Linked DNA regions of Homo sapiens: all the other regions are linked to region 2. The links are contacts of gene promoters, found by promoter capture Hi-C in blood cells and fetal thymus (Javierre and others, 2016). All regions are on one chromosome and are shown on one strand. Each heading gives the region's core, a stretch centred on a gene start or on the middle of the fragment in contact. The rest is flanking DNA. Distances are from core to core; before and after follow the strand shown.

Region 1 (4,484 bases), core at 1,242-3,741, 260 kb after region 2:
TATTAAATGCATTTTGACTAAGGGTCTTTTCCACTAACGATAGCCTTATTGGGATGTAACCCCATCCTATGTTGAGGAGCATCTGTTATGTTATAGATTACTGTGCATCTGAAGGCATTTATTAGTTTATTGCACTGAAGCCGTCTCTGCGGCAAAATAGTTTTCACATTCAAATTTGTAAGATTGAGTTTTCCTTGGCTCTTCCCCATTCATTTAGATTTTAGTTTGATGGGTCAAGTATATTTCTTTAAAAATGTGTATCTCTTATTGTATAATTGAGTGGAAAGTGCTGAGAGTACAGTCTGAATGCAAAGAATACACTAGAGACCGCTATTGGAATGCCTGAACTGTGACACTTTGTAAGTCTCCCGGTGAGGATGTTTGCAGTGGTGAGTGTCCCTCTTTGGTTCCAGGCAGCATGCCCCCCTTCAATTCCAGTGTCAGCTGGTGGAGAGGGGACACACCATCTTTTAGTTGTTGTAATCAAATAAATACAGATCTGATTATTACTGAAACATGTTCCTTAAGCTAGGAAACGGTTTTTGAGCAGTTTATACGAAGCTTTAACTTCATGTACCTGTGAACACACACATTTATTGAGCTACTACTCTATTTTTGGCATTTGAGTTATATTGACGAACAAACCAGACAAAGCTTTCTTCAACCATGATATTACTTTCTATCAGACAGTCTTATTATTGTTTATTAGCAGTAAACATAAGTATTTTATGTGGCATGTTAGAAGATGAAAATGCAGTGAGAAATTGAGCAGGATGCGGGGAAGGGATGGGTTGTATCTTAAATGGGGTGATCAGGGTGAACTTCACTGAGCAGGAAAGAGTTGAGGGATATCTGTAAGTTAGCAATGTGGCTGTTCAGGGAAGAAGATTGCAGGCAGAGTGATCAGCAAGTATAAGGGGGCTTCCTCCAGGAGAGACCCTGCCTTGTGTGTTTGAGTAGCCAAAAGGAGACCAGCGTGACTTTTGTGGAGTGATCAAAGCAGAGAAGAAATGCAGAACCTGGGTACCGTGGGGCCGTGGGGCCATCCAGCCATTCTCAGGACTTTGGCAGGGAGTGAAATGGGCAGGGATTAGAGGGGTTTGAGCAGAGGAATGACGTGACCTTGTGTATGTTTTAGAAGATTCCTCTTGCTGCCGTGTTGAGAGGAGACTGTCGGGTGGCAAGGGTGGAAGCTGGTGTCTAGCTAGGAGGTGACAGATGATCCTGGTGCAAACCAGTGTGGTAGCAGGGAGAGTGCAGAGAGCTCAGAGCTGGATGAAGTAGGAAGATGGGGCCGATGGGATTTGCTGATGGATTGGATGAGTGTGAGAGGGAGAGAGGAGGTAAGAGTGATGCCCAGGTGACCAGAGCATTTAGAGGGCTGGTCTGGTTGCCATCACCTGAGGTGGGGAGATCAAAAGTTCTGTTTTGGGTGCATTAAATTTGAGATGCCAACTAGCCATGTGAGTGGAGGGGTCTAGTAGGCAGTTGGATGAGAATTCAGTATAGGGGTTTGGGCTCAAAGTACAGGTCAGGAGGTTGTTGGTGAATAGGTGGATTTAGACCCTGCCCTCAAATGAGAGCCCTGGAGGAGGGAGTCTGTGTGTGGGGAGACCAAGGACTGGGACCTAGGGCACTTGACACAGGAGGGGGAGGGGCAGGAGGAGAACCCGTCAGGGAGGCCAAGGACTGGGACCCCGGCACTCGACGTGGGAATGGGGGCAGGAGGAGAGCCTGGCAAAGGAGCCGAGAGGGAGGAAGGAGGATGACGGTCGATGGGGAAGGAAGCAGGTGGCCACGGGCTGGCAGGGCTGCTGCCAATGGGTCAGTGGGTGTGGCCTGCACTTGGGGCGGGGCTGGTGAGGAGGAGGCACAGGCCTGGCTGAGATGGGGCACGGACTTGAGGCCACTGTATTGACAGACTTTGACTGTGTTTTGCTAAAACAGAAGTTGGATGATAATTGATGGGAGCCAAGTGGGCTTGAGAGAAAGTTTTTTATTCTAAGTTTTTTATTCATTGCACTTACAGAAAAGAGCTAGTTAAGAAGGAAAAACATCATTGATGCAGATGAGAGGAAAAACTTGTCTTGTCCAGGACCACGTGCCAGAGGTGGGCTTGCTGAGGGGGAGGAGCAGGGAGTCCTCCACAGCTGGGGCAGATGGATGGGCAGGTGGAGGAGTCTTGTGTCAGTTCTTCCTTGGTGGCCTCAGTTTCCTCGGTGGGTAGCAGGGAGCTAGAGTGGGGAGGTAGGAGGGCGTGTTGAAGGTCTGAGGAGAGGCGCTTTGGAGCATCCGTTCGTGCTTTCGAAGAGTGGATGTGCGCAGGGATGGATGGGGCTGCTGAGCCCTTGAGGGGTGTGGATTTGAGGTGAGGGCAGTCAGCATGGTTGTGTGTCTCTGTCCAGCTGCGCTCATCTGCGCACACTAGGTGTGGAATAGGCAGGCAGTTGGGTTTATGAGGGTCATAGTTTTCACAAAGTAGTAAAGGGAAGGCAGTGCTGATAACGATGGGCTGTGGATCATAAGGTAGATGCCAGGGAGGAGAAGACACCAGGGAGGAGGCTGAGATGGTGAAAAGGAGATCATTGGAGATCTTTGTAGAGTTGAACGATTGTTTGAATCAGGATCCTAGAGGGAGTGAGATGGAAGGGTGGAATGGTCACCAGGACTGGAGGCAGAGGTGGCACGGATCTGAGGCAGGGCACGGCAAGGGCCGTCTTTGTGTTTATTCAGACTGGAGCTGAACTCCCTGAGAAATGAGAGGGCCAGTGTGGTGCTGGGGCATGTCAGCTGGTGGCATGAGATGAAAGCTGGGTCTGGAAGCAGCAGTTAGATCAAGAAGGAGCCCTTCTACCTCCAGACCTTTGGCAAGAAGCTGTGGGAGAACAGCTGCCACTCAGAGGGGCCATTAGAGCGAGAAGGTGAAGGAACTCAAGGGTGTGGTGGATGCTGCTGATGGGTGGGGAATTTGGGATTCCTAAGGGTGTGGGAGAGAAGTTTCAGAAGTGGAGAGTAGCCTAAGGTAGTAGTTCAAGTGCAGGGGATTGGCCAGTGGCCTAGATCCTGGGACCCTCCCATACGTGGGTGAGAAGTATTATGAAGTTGTCCTGTGGCCATGGAGCAGGGGACTGTGATGGTGACGGGCTGGCCCAGAGTGTAAGGGAGGGGGGCGCCTCTTGACAGTGTCTGCGGGTCACCACCAGGCCACTGGGCATGGCAGAGAAGCATAAGGTTTTAAAGTACAATTAACTCCTAACCCCTCCTGACCCCATCGCATGTCCCTGTGTTCCCCCAAAGTTTTTCCCACCCTGGTTAGCATCGCTCATCCACACATCCTCTTAGGTGGCCCTGAGCGTCGCTGATTGGTGTGGTGCCTACGTCTCCTGCAGTAGCCGTTGAATGAATGGAGACATGAACACACGCATACTTGAATGGGGAAGGGTGGCTTTCTTTCAAGTAATCCTTTGCATCTTCCCCATAGTGGTTGTCCTGAACTTGGAACTGCTGTCAGTCTAATTTGTTGGAATAATTTTGCTTATGCTAGCATCTGTTATTCTTGTGCATTTCCTTGTAAAATGCCGTGGAAAGCTGGCAGCTGGTAATACGTACAGATTTTCTTTAGCTTCACTAAAATAGTCTTAGAAATATAGGGTGGTAAAGCTGTCAGGAAGCCCCAAGATATCCTCTATGTATGAAAATGGTGTCCCCTGCAAAAGTCAACAGCCTGGCAAGTGTAGAATGCAGGCCTTGCACCCCAAAGCGCACGTGTGATTTAGCAACTACTCCAAGGTCAGCTTTCTGACAAAAGTTTTTAAACTCAGAACCAGCTAGCTTTTTCTCACCATGAAACTAGGAGCTTTAGTGCCGCATGTCCCTTATCTGTCATTTACCTTTGACCTTCAGAGGTACACTGACACAGGAGAGAAGGACAAAGTGTTCTTGCTAGGTAGATAGGCAACACTTTCGAAGCAGTTGTTTATTCTCTAATAGATGAATGAGCTTAAATAGAAATGCACAGTTCCTCTTGAGAGAGACTGAATATCAAGATGTCTCCTGTAGGTAAAAGATACACAGATTAAACCTTTGATTCTCAGAGCCTTACACAGATGAAAGGTGCTTTTTAAAAAAGCTAGCAATATATATACATCTTCTTCTGATGGCACAGACTTTCTGAGGATGAAGAGTGTTCCGTTATAATTTATTTAAAAACAATTTTGATGGAAATTTAACTTGTTTCCAGGTTTTTAGTATTATAATTATAATGAATTGAAAACAGTCCATTAAATACATGGGACAAGTTATAAATATTAAACTTCAAATATTCAAGTTGAAGCTTCAGCTAGACTGGTCTCTAACATCACACCTGTTAAATTCTTCGCTGCAGTAGTCGGGCAGCCAGGGCCTGGCAGGGAGAGCCCGCAGACACATGCCTGGGTATTCCCACTGAGGTGGCATCTCTTGGGTGGGCCAGGTGTCTGCACTGT
Region 2 (4,368 bases), core at 1,351-3,850:
GGAGCCATTAACCTGGGATGGTTTTGCAGGAACCAAAGAGCTCAGGGCCCCTCCTCCCCCCAATATCATGTTCAGGAGACCCAGAGTCGTTGGACCCTCCCTTTCCTGACTGGTGATCATCAGAGTTTCCAGAGTTGCAGAAAATTCTCCCCCCAAAAAACCAAGTAAGCGTCAATAAGACTTCCCACAAACTCTCACCAGCCCTATTTTCCCGGGGGGCAGGTAGACTGTGGGGTTTGATTTTTTGAGACTCGGGGAGGACCCCTGGCAGATGTGTGCCTAGCCAGAACATTTGGTAAGGACTCCTCCAATGAAGAAAAAGTGGAGGAATCCAGCCCCAGCGAGAAGAGGCTTCCCCACCCTGCCCTAGACACACCGGACAGAGGGCACACTCTGACCAGAGCCACGTCCAGTGGCCAGGAGGCCAGCCCAGCACCTCCTCCCCCACCATTCCCGTCCTGGGTGGGGGGGTAATTTTCCTGGGAGCAGCTGTGGGAACTGTCGTTTCTCATCCCAGCCCAGCCAGCACTCTGAAGCCTGCAGGGGAAGGACAGCACGTGGGATGGACACTGGGGAAGGAGCTTCGCAAGGCCAGGGTGCAACCTTCAGGCCCCAGGTGGCCTGGCAGGCCACGCTGCCTCGGAGATGCTTGCCAGACTCCCCAAGTTCACTCAGGGCCTGGCAGCAACCTGCTGGCTGCCTCTGCGGGGGTCTGGGTTGCTGAGCACGGTGCAGCTGCCCAGGGCCAATCAGCCCTAGGGTGTCCGTGCCAGGCTGCGGCCTCCCCGCCTCCCCCGCACTGAGGGTACTCATGGCGTGCAAATGCTCCCGCACCCCCAGAGCTGCCCTATCGGATGTTTCCAGGAATTCACACATTTCCATAAAAATGCATTTTAAATGATGGACAGGCGAGCCTGGGGTAACAACGGGTGTTTGGTGGGTAGACAAGAGCAAATGGGAAGGAGCCCGAGGGAGGAGGGGGAAGAGAAGAGGAAACAGAACTTCCAGTTGGACATTCTGACAACAGCTGGAAGGAAAGTCTAGAAAAGATGAAGAGAGAGGAGGGGAGAAACCAACTGGGGCTCCCACCCTTGCCGTTGGATTCCTAATTCTCGTTTCAAATGGGCCCTGCTCTCCGGCAAAATTAGTTTAAAGGATTTTAAAACAAAGAAAACGAGATGACCGGTCTGGGAGCTCCTCAATCAGAGTAGAGAAGTTAGAGGGGGGCGGGCGACTTGGTTTTGAAGTCTTAGCTGAACAGTCACCCCTCCTCTCCTTGGCAAAAAGGATTCCTTTAGAACCTCCGAGGCTCCTGGATTTCTCCCTTCGCAAATGGAGCCGCATACTGCATTCCCCCGCTCTTTCGGATCGCTAAGCATGTTTCATGAGGGTCGCTGTCCCCGGGTGGAATGCGGCCGTATGCACGCGCCTCCCTGCACACGCACACACACGCACACTTACAATAAGTGTCTGCAGGAGGAGTGTCCTGCGCGCCAGCTCTGCGTTTAAGACAGGAAGCTGCCGGGTTACCGAGTCAAATGGGAGTGACACTATTCCTCTCCATCAGCAAGGAAAGCGGACCACAAAAGTCCCTTTGTATCTCGGCAGCTCATTTAATATTATTTATGCATTTTGTGCAAGGAATTGTGGGATTTCGCCCCACGGTAAACAATATGGAAATCTTAAAAATAGCGATCTTCCTGTGCGTGTCCACCTACGCGCCCCGGGGTGACCTGGCGGGGCTGTCGCCGGGTGACTCACACCCCTGAACCGCGAAGCGACAGGGAAAGCGCGGGCGAGCGCAGGAGACGCGGTCGGGGGTCTCTCCGGGTTCCTGGGCTCCCGCACCCGGAGCGGGGGACGCGGCCGCTTTAAGGGGAGGAGGGGCGGCGGGCTGCTCCTGTCACCCAGCGGCGGCCGGAGCGTCACGTGGGCGCGCGGCGCCGCGGCCATTGGCCCGAGGCACGTGTCCAGGAGACCGGCCTGCGACGTCACTCGAGGGGGCTCTGTTAAAAATAAGAACAAAAATCCAGAGTGAAAGTGTCTCAGGTTGCGCCGAGTGGCCTGGAAATTTCCGAGCCCGCGCGGAGGCCGAGGCGGCGAGGGCGGCGGACGGCCGGGGAGCGCGGGCGGCCCAGCCCGGCCCGGCCGGGCCCTGGCCTCGCGTCTCTCACCCATGCGACTCGGGCCGCGGAGCTCTGCGGGGCTCGGCGGGGGCGCGGCCGCACGCCGGTGGGGCGCCCCGGCCCGCAGCGGGGCGGCGGCCGCGAGGAGGGGGCCTCCATGTGCGTGCGGGCGGTGGCGGGCGCGCTGACCGCGGGCGCCCGGCACCCTCGAGGGCCGGCTAGGGCGTGCGGGCGGGGACGGCCGGGCGGCGGCGGCGGCCGGAGCCGGCCCGGGCGGGCGTGAGCGCCGGGGAACGCGCTGCCTGCATGCGCGCAGCTCTCGCCCCGGGCGGCCCAGGCGGCGGCGCCGGAGCCCGAGGCGGCCGGACGCGGAGAGGAGCGGGGAGCCCGGGAGGCGGCCCGCGTCCCCGCCGGACCACTGCGACTGTCTAGACCCCGGCTGCGCGGCGAAGTCGAGGACTTGGCTCTGTTGAATCTCTCATCGTCTGGGCGAGCGGGGCGGCTCGTGGTGTTTCTAACCCAGTTCGTGGATTCAAAGGTGGCTCCGCGCCGAGCGCGGCCGGCGACTTGTAGGACCTCAGCCCTGGCCGCGGCCGCCGCGCACGCCCTCGGAAGACTCGGCGGGGTGGGGGCGCGGGGGTCTCCGTGTGCGCCGCGGGAGGGCCGAAGGCTGATTTGGAAGGGCGTCCCCGGAGAACCAGTGTGGGATTTACTGTGAACAGCATGGAGGAGAATGACCCCAAGCCTGGCGAAGCAGCGGCGGCGGTGGAGGGACAGCGGCAGCCGGAATCCAGCCCCGGCGGCGGCTCGGGCGGCGGCGGCGGTAGCAGCCCGGGCGAAGCGGACACCGGGCGCCGGCGGGCTCTGATGCTGCCCGCGGTCCTGCAGGCGCCCGGCAACCACCAGCACCCGCACCGCATCACCAACTTCTTCATCGACAACATCCTGCGGCCCGAGTTCGGCCGGCGAAAGGACGCGGGGACCTGCTGTGCGGGCGCGGGAGGAGGAAGGGGCGGCGGAGCCGGCGGCGAAGGCGGCGCGAGCGGTGCGGAGGGAGGCGGCGGCGCGGGCGGCTCGGAGCAGCTCTTGGGCTCGGGCTCCCGAGAGCCCCGGCAGAACCCGCCATGTGCGCCCGGCGCGGGCGGGCCGCTCCCAGCCGCCGGCAGCGACTCTCCGGGTGACGGGGAAGGCGGCTCCAAGACGCTCTCGCTGCACGGTGGCGCCAAGAAAGGCGGCGACCCCGGCGGCCCCCTGGACGGGTCGCTCAAGGCCCGCGGCTTGGGCGGCGGCGACCTGTCGGTGAGCTCGGACTCGGACAGCTCGCAAGCCGGCGCCAACCTGGGCGCGCAGCCCATGCTCTGGCCGGCGTGGGTCTACTGTACGCGCTACTCGGACCGGCCTTCTTCAGGTGAGCCCGCGGGGACCACGCGTCCCGGCTCGCCGCGGGGAGGCCCGCGGAGCTGGGGGGCGGTGCTGGCGCGGGAACTTACCGGGAGGAAAACATCTCGAACCTCCCCCGCGCACACGCACAAAGACTCACGCGACATTGTGTGAAGCTGACGCCGGCCCGGGCAGCGGCCAGGAGTCCAGCGGCAGGACTGATTCGCTAGGGGGTACAGACTTCTTAGGACCGCAGAAGGGACCTTCTTTCTTTCTCTGTCTCTCTCTCTCCTTCCTCTCTCCCTGTCTCCCCTCTCTGTCTTCCACCCCGCCTTGGCGCATCTCTTCCCAGCCCCTAGCCCATGTCTCCCCCACTGTAGTTTTTTTTGGTGGGAACGTGGTGGCTGGAAGATGGGCCCGGAAGTGCACACTCTCATCCCCTTCCCTACGATCTTCCAACTCAGGCCAGGCCGGGGACGCATGCCCCAGCCCACCCCAGACTTGTCCTACCATCCGGTTATCCCGGCTGTGCTCGGGGAAGAAAAGGCGAGGCCCTTTGCCGCTCTGCCTTCTGCCCCTCGGGCCTGCGCTGACCGGTGGGACTCAGGAGGATGCACACAGGGAAGGAGGAAAATAAAGGCGCCCTTTCCCCTTGGCTCCACTTTGTTTGCCAGCGCCAGCCCGCAGTGGTGGGGCTCAGCCCCCTTCCTGCACACAGCGAGGACAAGGGAGGCAGCCGTCCCTCCCGGCACCTGCCATCCCCAAATAGAAAGGACCTTCTCTCAGGGTTTCCTGGGGGCTGCTGATGGGAAAGAGGCAGCATTCGCAGGGGCCCTGCAGAGATGCTGGATATATTTTTTCA
Region 3 (4,349 bases), core at 1,649-4,148, 320 kb after region 2:
ACAGCATCTTGCTCAGTTCTGTGAACAGAAGGCTTTGTTACTGAAGGAGGTGGAAGAGGAGTTTAGGGTGAAAAGGAGGAAGGGATGGACAGACCCAGGTGAGGAGAGGCCTGGGGATTGGGGAAGCTGTCATCTCAGTGTTAATAATCAACTTGCTTCTAACACACTGGCTTATCAGGGGAGGTCATCCAGTCCGGTCGGTGGAGTTGAGAGCCCTTGGGCCAGGGTGTTTGGCGGCACAGGGGCATCCGCTGGATGGCCTGGAGGAGTGGGGGAGGGGAACGTCTTCACTGGGTGGTGATCAGCTGGGACAGTTCAGGTAGGGCAGGTGAGGGACCCCCGAGGCCCTGGAGCCTTGTCCTGGGATGGGTTTGAAGAACTCATCACTCATCACTTGTTTTCTTTTGGCTTTTGTTGTTTTTGTTTTGTTCTGTTTGTTTTGTTTTGTATTTCTTTGTTATTTTATTGGGAAGGTAAGCGGAATGTGCTCATAGACCATCAGACGCTTGTCGAAGGCAGGTCCTAGTCATGTAATTGCACAGGACAAGGAGGTCAGCGTGTGTGATGGCAGCATGCTGTGCCGGCACATCGTGGAGTCCTAGAAACTCTCTAGTCCCTGCGGCTGTTCCCCTCCTCTGCTCTCTCCCTGGAGAGGACTGCCAGCTCTTAAGAAACATTCCTGGTGCGGTGTCTGCAGTGCCCTTTGTGGGTGACTTCAGGCTTCCCGCTTTCGTGGTGCTCTTCCTGGGATTCGTTTTTTTATTACCCTCCCTCCCTACTTGTAGGCCTCAGCTATGGCTTGACGTAATCGCTTTTAGACCCAGGTTGGCTTCCCTTCATTAAGCTATGATCCTCCACCCCATTTTTTTTTTTTTTAATTTGGAGTGGGAGGGAGGGGGGTGGGCGAGAGAAAGCTCGAAAGGTATTATTGGTTTTTCAAAAAATTAGAGGTGACGATTCTACCAGGGAGTTGACTGATAGGAGTGTGTGCAGGGCAGGAAAGGTTCGGAGGCACCCGACTACCACCACTCGGAAAGCCGCTAGTCCAGATCGACTAGGGAGAGGCTTAGATACTTTAGTGTATTTAAAGAGCATTTCAGTTAACTTTTTCAGCTATTTTTAAAGTTTGTGAATGGAGTGTTATTTTGGACATTCTTAAATATGAATTCTCCAAAGGCATTTAGCCTTGACTTAATATTAAATCCTAAGGATTTTATGTAAGGTTTTTTTGCAACCTATTTAATTTTTTTTAAATGCCTAACTTCTGAGGTGCATAAGCCCGTGGTTTGTGTACTGGAACTAAAGCGGAACTCACTGATTCATATTGGATCCCCAGGTATACCTTCTGCTGGTAGCATATGGCTGGAAAAGGCCGTTTGCCTCACACATTGTAACCTGCCTTGGCTAGAAAATGCTTTTAATGTCTCAACTCTCTCTTTTCTGTGTCATGTTTTGGTAGGAAATCTTTAAGATTGGCGGACGGAACAGGTATTTTAGTGAGACACTTCTGAGTACTTGCTTTTTCCTTTGACTTCTAACCAACTAAAAGAGAAGGAGGTCTTCATGTTGATATTTTGCTTGGTTTTATTTTACTGATTTTAAAAGGTATATAGAAAAATGTAGGCCTTTAAAAAGAAACAGCATGTAGTTTTTTATTTTAATATGTTCCATAGAGTGGATAGGCAGACAGGTACTATTGTAATGTATTCTGTATTTAATAATTTAATATACTCTAGAAAGTAGACCTCATGCATTCTTTTAGCATGATTTTCTTTTAAACTGCTTTTCATTTTAAGGGCACCCGTGGCGGAAGCTGGTTTTGCAAGGACTGTGTAAGCTGTATGCGTTCTAGCTGTATGCGTTCTGTAGTCTTTTCTTAGGTGGGTAACATTTTCAATAACGCGCGCACAGCACACAGGGGTGCCCTGAGCCGAAGGAGCAAAAAAAGCCACCGCTCGTTTCTATAATCCAGCTTTGCTTTTCACAGGCGTGGGATCCAGGATGGTGTCCTCTGTGAGGACTTGAACTCTGGGGCTTTAATTCCACTGTTTAATTTTCAGGTACCACAGCAGCAAAGCACAGAGTGTGACCTTTTTCATGTCTGAGCTGATTCTGTTTGCTCCACGTGCCTGCTTCTTGCTACTGTTCATTTAGTAATGGGATCACCTCACCATGCCATGCTCTGGGCTCTCCCTCTCTGTCCATTTCTGTTTTGCTTTCCTGGCTAAACCCATCTACCATTCTTAACACTGGTAGCTCCTGTCCCATTCCAAGACTCACTCTCTCAGACCTTCCCATCTCCCTGGCTTTCCATGCTCCTCTCCCTCCACCTCCTGGCTTCAACTGGGTGAGGGCCGTATTCCTGCCACTCTGCTCCGCCTCAGCCTTGAGAACTCCACGTGGGCTGGGTGGGAAGGTGCTGACGATTTTCACACTGTGTTTACCACTCCATCACCTCTCAACCTTTGCTTCGACAGGTCTTCACTCACGATTTATTCCTCCAGGTCTTTGATTGGAGAGAGTAACTTTTTAATTCTGTTGTTTTGCAGTTTGGCTCTGTAGGAGTGAGTGGCGATTCAAAGATGCCGGCGTCCCGCAGTGTGCGGTTCGTGCCCTTAACCACCCGCTTCTTTGTTTCCCGCCCCTCTGCTTTCGCAGGAGCTCTTGTGCTTGAGTTCAGTGTTAGTGGTAGCGTGGCTCACTCCACTTGGAGGTGGCGGCCGTCTGACCGTGTGTTACTGCTTTGCCGACGGGGCCTCCCGGCCCTGATGCGTGTACACTCTGCGGGCTGCACCGGGTGGCTCTGGTTGGGGGCGAAGCTGTGTTGACTGGGAGAGCGTTGGAAATTGAGACATGGAGAGATGACGGGAGTGCGTTTCTCTGGGTTTGATCTCCATCCTGTTTTCTCCCAGACACACCACACCTACCTTGGGGGAATGCCGTTGCCTGTTCCACCCCTTTGTTCACTTCGCGTTAACTGCTGTGGTAACTTTTTCAGGATCTGTGTGAAGAATGGTAATGACGTAGTTGAAAGGAAAATGTACTGTTGTGTGTTTCATTTGTGTGATTTCGTACCAAAAAAATGTGTTTGAACTATATTGTATGTAATTTGGAAGTCGTGTTAATAAAACCCTGCAGTTTCCACTCTGGTTCCGTAGCCTTCATTTTGTCTGGGCGCTCAGGTCGGGCCACAGCTCATCTTACCTGTGTGTCCGAGACGGTGCTTCCGCACCTCTGTAAGGGGCCGGGGTCGGGGGCTGCCCTCACGCTCCCCAGATTGGCCGCTGGGTTGCAGCCCGCGGCTTTCACGCAGCTCTCTCATTAGTGGGCCACGAAGGTCAAGGGCAGCCGCCGCCTCCTTGCCTGCATTCTGGGCGCTGCATGACTCCGAACTGACCAGGCAGACGGCATCAAAGTATGCTCCTTTTGGTTGGGGGTGGGGGAGTTAGTCTTTTTAATTTTTTAAAGCATTATAGATAATTTTTACAAGTTTTCTTCAGAAGAGACTTGTATTCCAGCATGGCAATAAGAGACTGAAGGTGGGGAAGCTCAGTCTCCAGTGACGCCGTTCTTCCAAGGTGGCGTGTTCTTGCCGTGTGCAGGCCTCGCTGGAGGTTGGGATCACAGTGCATATGCCATCATGTATATTTTCCATTTCATGTATCCCACGTGTTTTTCATGTTGTTAGAAATTGCTCATAATTTATGGTCTATTTTGAAAATGAAGTCTTTAAAAAGAAGGCAGCTCTGTTTCCAGAAACTACTGTCCAAAACATTCAAGAAGATAACCCCCATCACACCCCCTGCTGTGCCCTGTGATGGGCCGGCTTCCCCTCTCACCCGGATGCTGGTGTTGGTGTCTGTGCTGGGGTTCGGGGGTCGCTGGTGACCAGCTCCAGCCTGCCTGTGTACTGTGATGGGCCGGCTTCCCCTCTCACCCGGATGCTGGTGTTGGTGTCTGTGCTGGGGTTCGGGAGGCGCTGGTGACCAGCTCCAGCCCACTCTCCACCTGCAGCACCCTCTCTTTTCTTATGTAGAAACGGGATCACCGTTCTCAGTCAGCACCCTCTCCTTTCTTACATAGAAACAGGACCACTGTTCTCAGTCACTGCCATTTCCTTTGGTCCCTTGAGTTTGATGGAAGACATGTGGCTCCCTTGACAGGCCTCTCCCATTCTTCGTGGGACAGCCTGTGGGTCAGCGGCTGTGAAAGCCAAAGCAGATTGGGACATGGTGGCACCCTTTCTGTCATCCCCCTGGTCCAGGCCGGTGTGCAGGGCTTGACAGAGCCACCCGGCAGGACCCTGGGGGAGAGCACAGTGGCTGTGGAAGCACTGTTAGGTATGCGGG

What was found. Contacts are between HindIII fragments. The CHiCAGO score rates a contact against its expected background, and 5 or more counts as called.
Region 1: a contact is called between a fragment that was not itself captured here and the fragment with the promoter of EN2 in region 2, in 1 of 17 cell types (neutrophils). The highest score is 5.6, in neutrophils.
Region 3: a contact is called between a fragment that was not itself captured here and the fragment with the promoter of EN2 in region 2, in 1 of 17 cell types (neutrophils). The highest score is 9.0, in neutrophils.

Annotation. Positions count from the first base shown.
Region 1 is chr7:155,711,767-155,716,250 of GRCh38, forward strand. All of the region lies in intron 8 of RBM33 (RNA binding motif protein 33), which reads left to right. Among named protein-coding and RNA genes, the nearest start is that of RBM33, 69 kb to the left of the region's middle. The HindIII fragment of the contact is 3,679 bases long and covers 653-4,331 here.
Region 2 is chr7:155,455,529-155,459,896 of GRCh38, forward strand. EN2 (engrailed homeobox 2) reads left to right here and starts at 2,601. Exons shown (of 2, transcript NM_001427.4): 1 at 2,601-3,534. The coding sequence starts at 2,850. EN2-DT (EN2 divergent transcript) reads right to left here and starts at 1,590. Exons shown (of 3, transcript NR_186580.1): 1 at 1,462-1,590. RefSeq lists an enhancer at 1,263-2,254. The HindIII fragment of the contact is 14,368 bases long and covers 1-4,368 here.
Region 3 is chr7:155,778,337-155,782,685 of GRCh38, forward strand. It overlaps RBM33 (RNA binding motif protein 33), which reads left to right. Exons shown (of 18, transcript NM_053043.3): 18 at 1-3,144. Among named protein-coding and RNA genes, the nearest start is that of SHH, 32 kb to the right of the region's middle. RefSeq lists a silencer at 3,119-3,413 and enhancers at 3,666-4,201, 4,202-4,349. The HindIII fragment of the contact is 5,935 bases long and covers 1-4,349 here.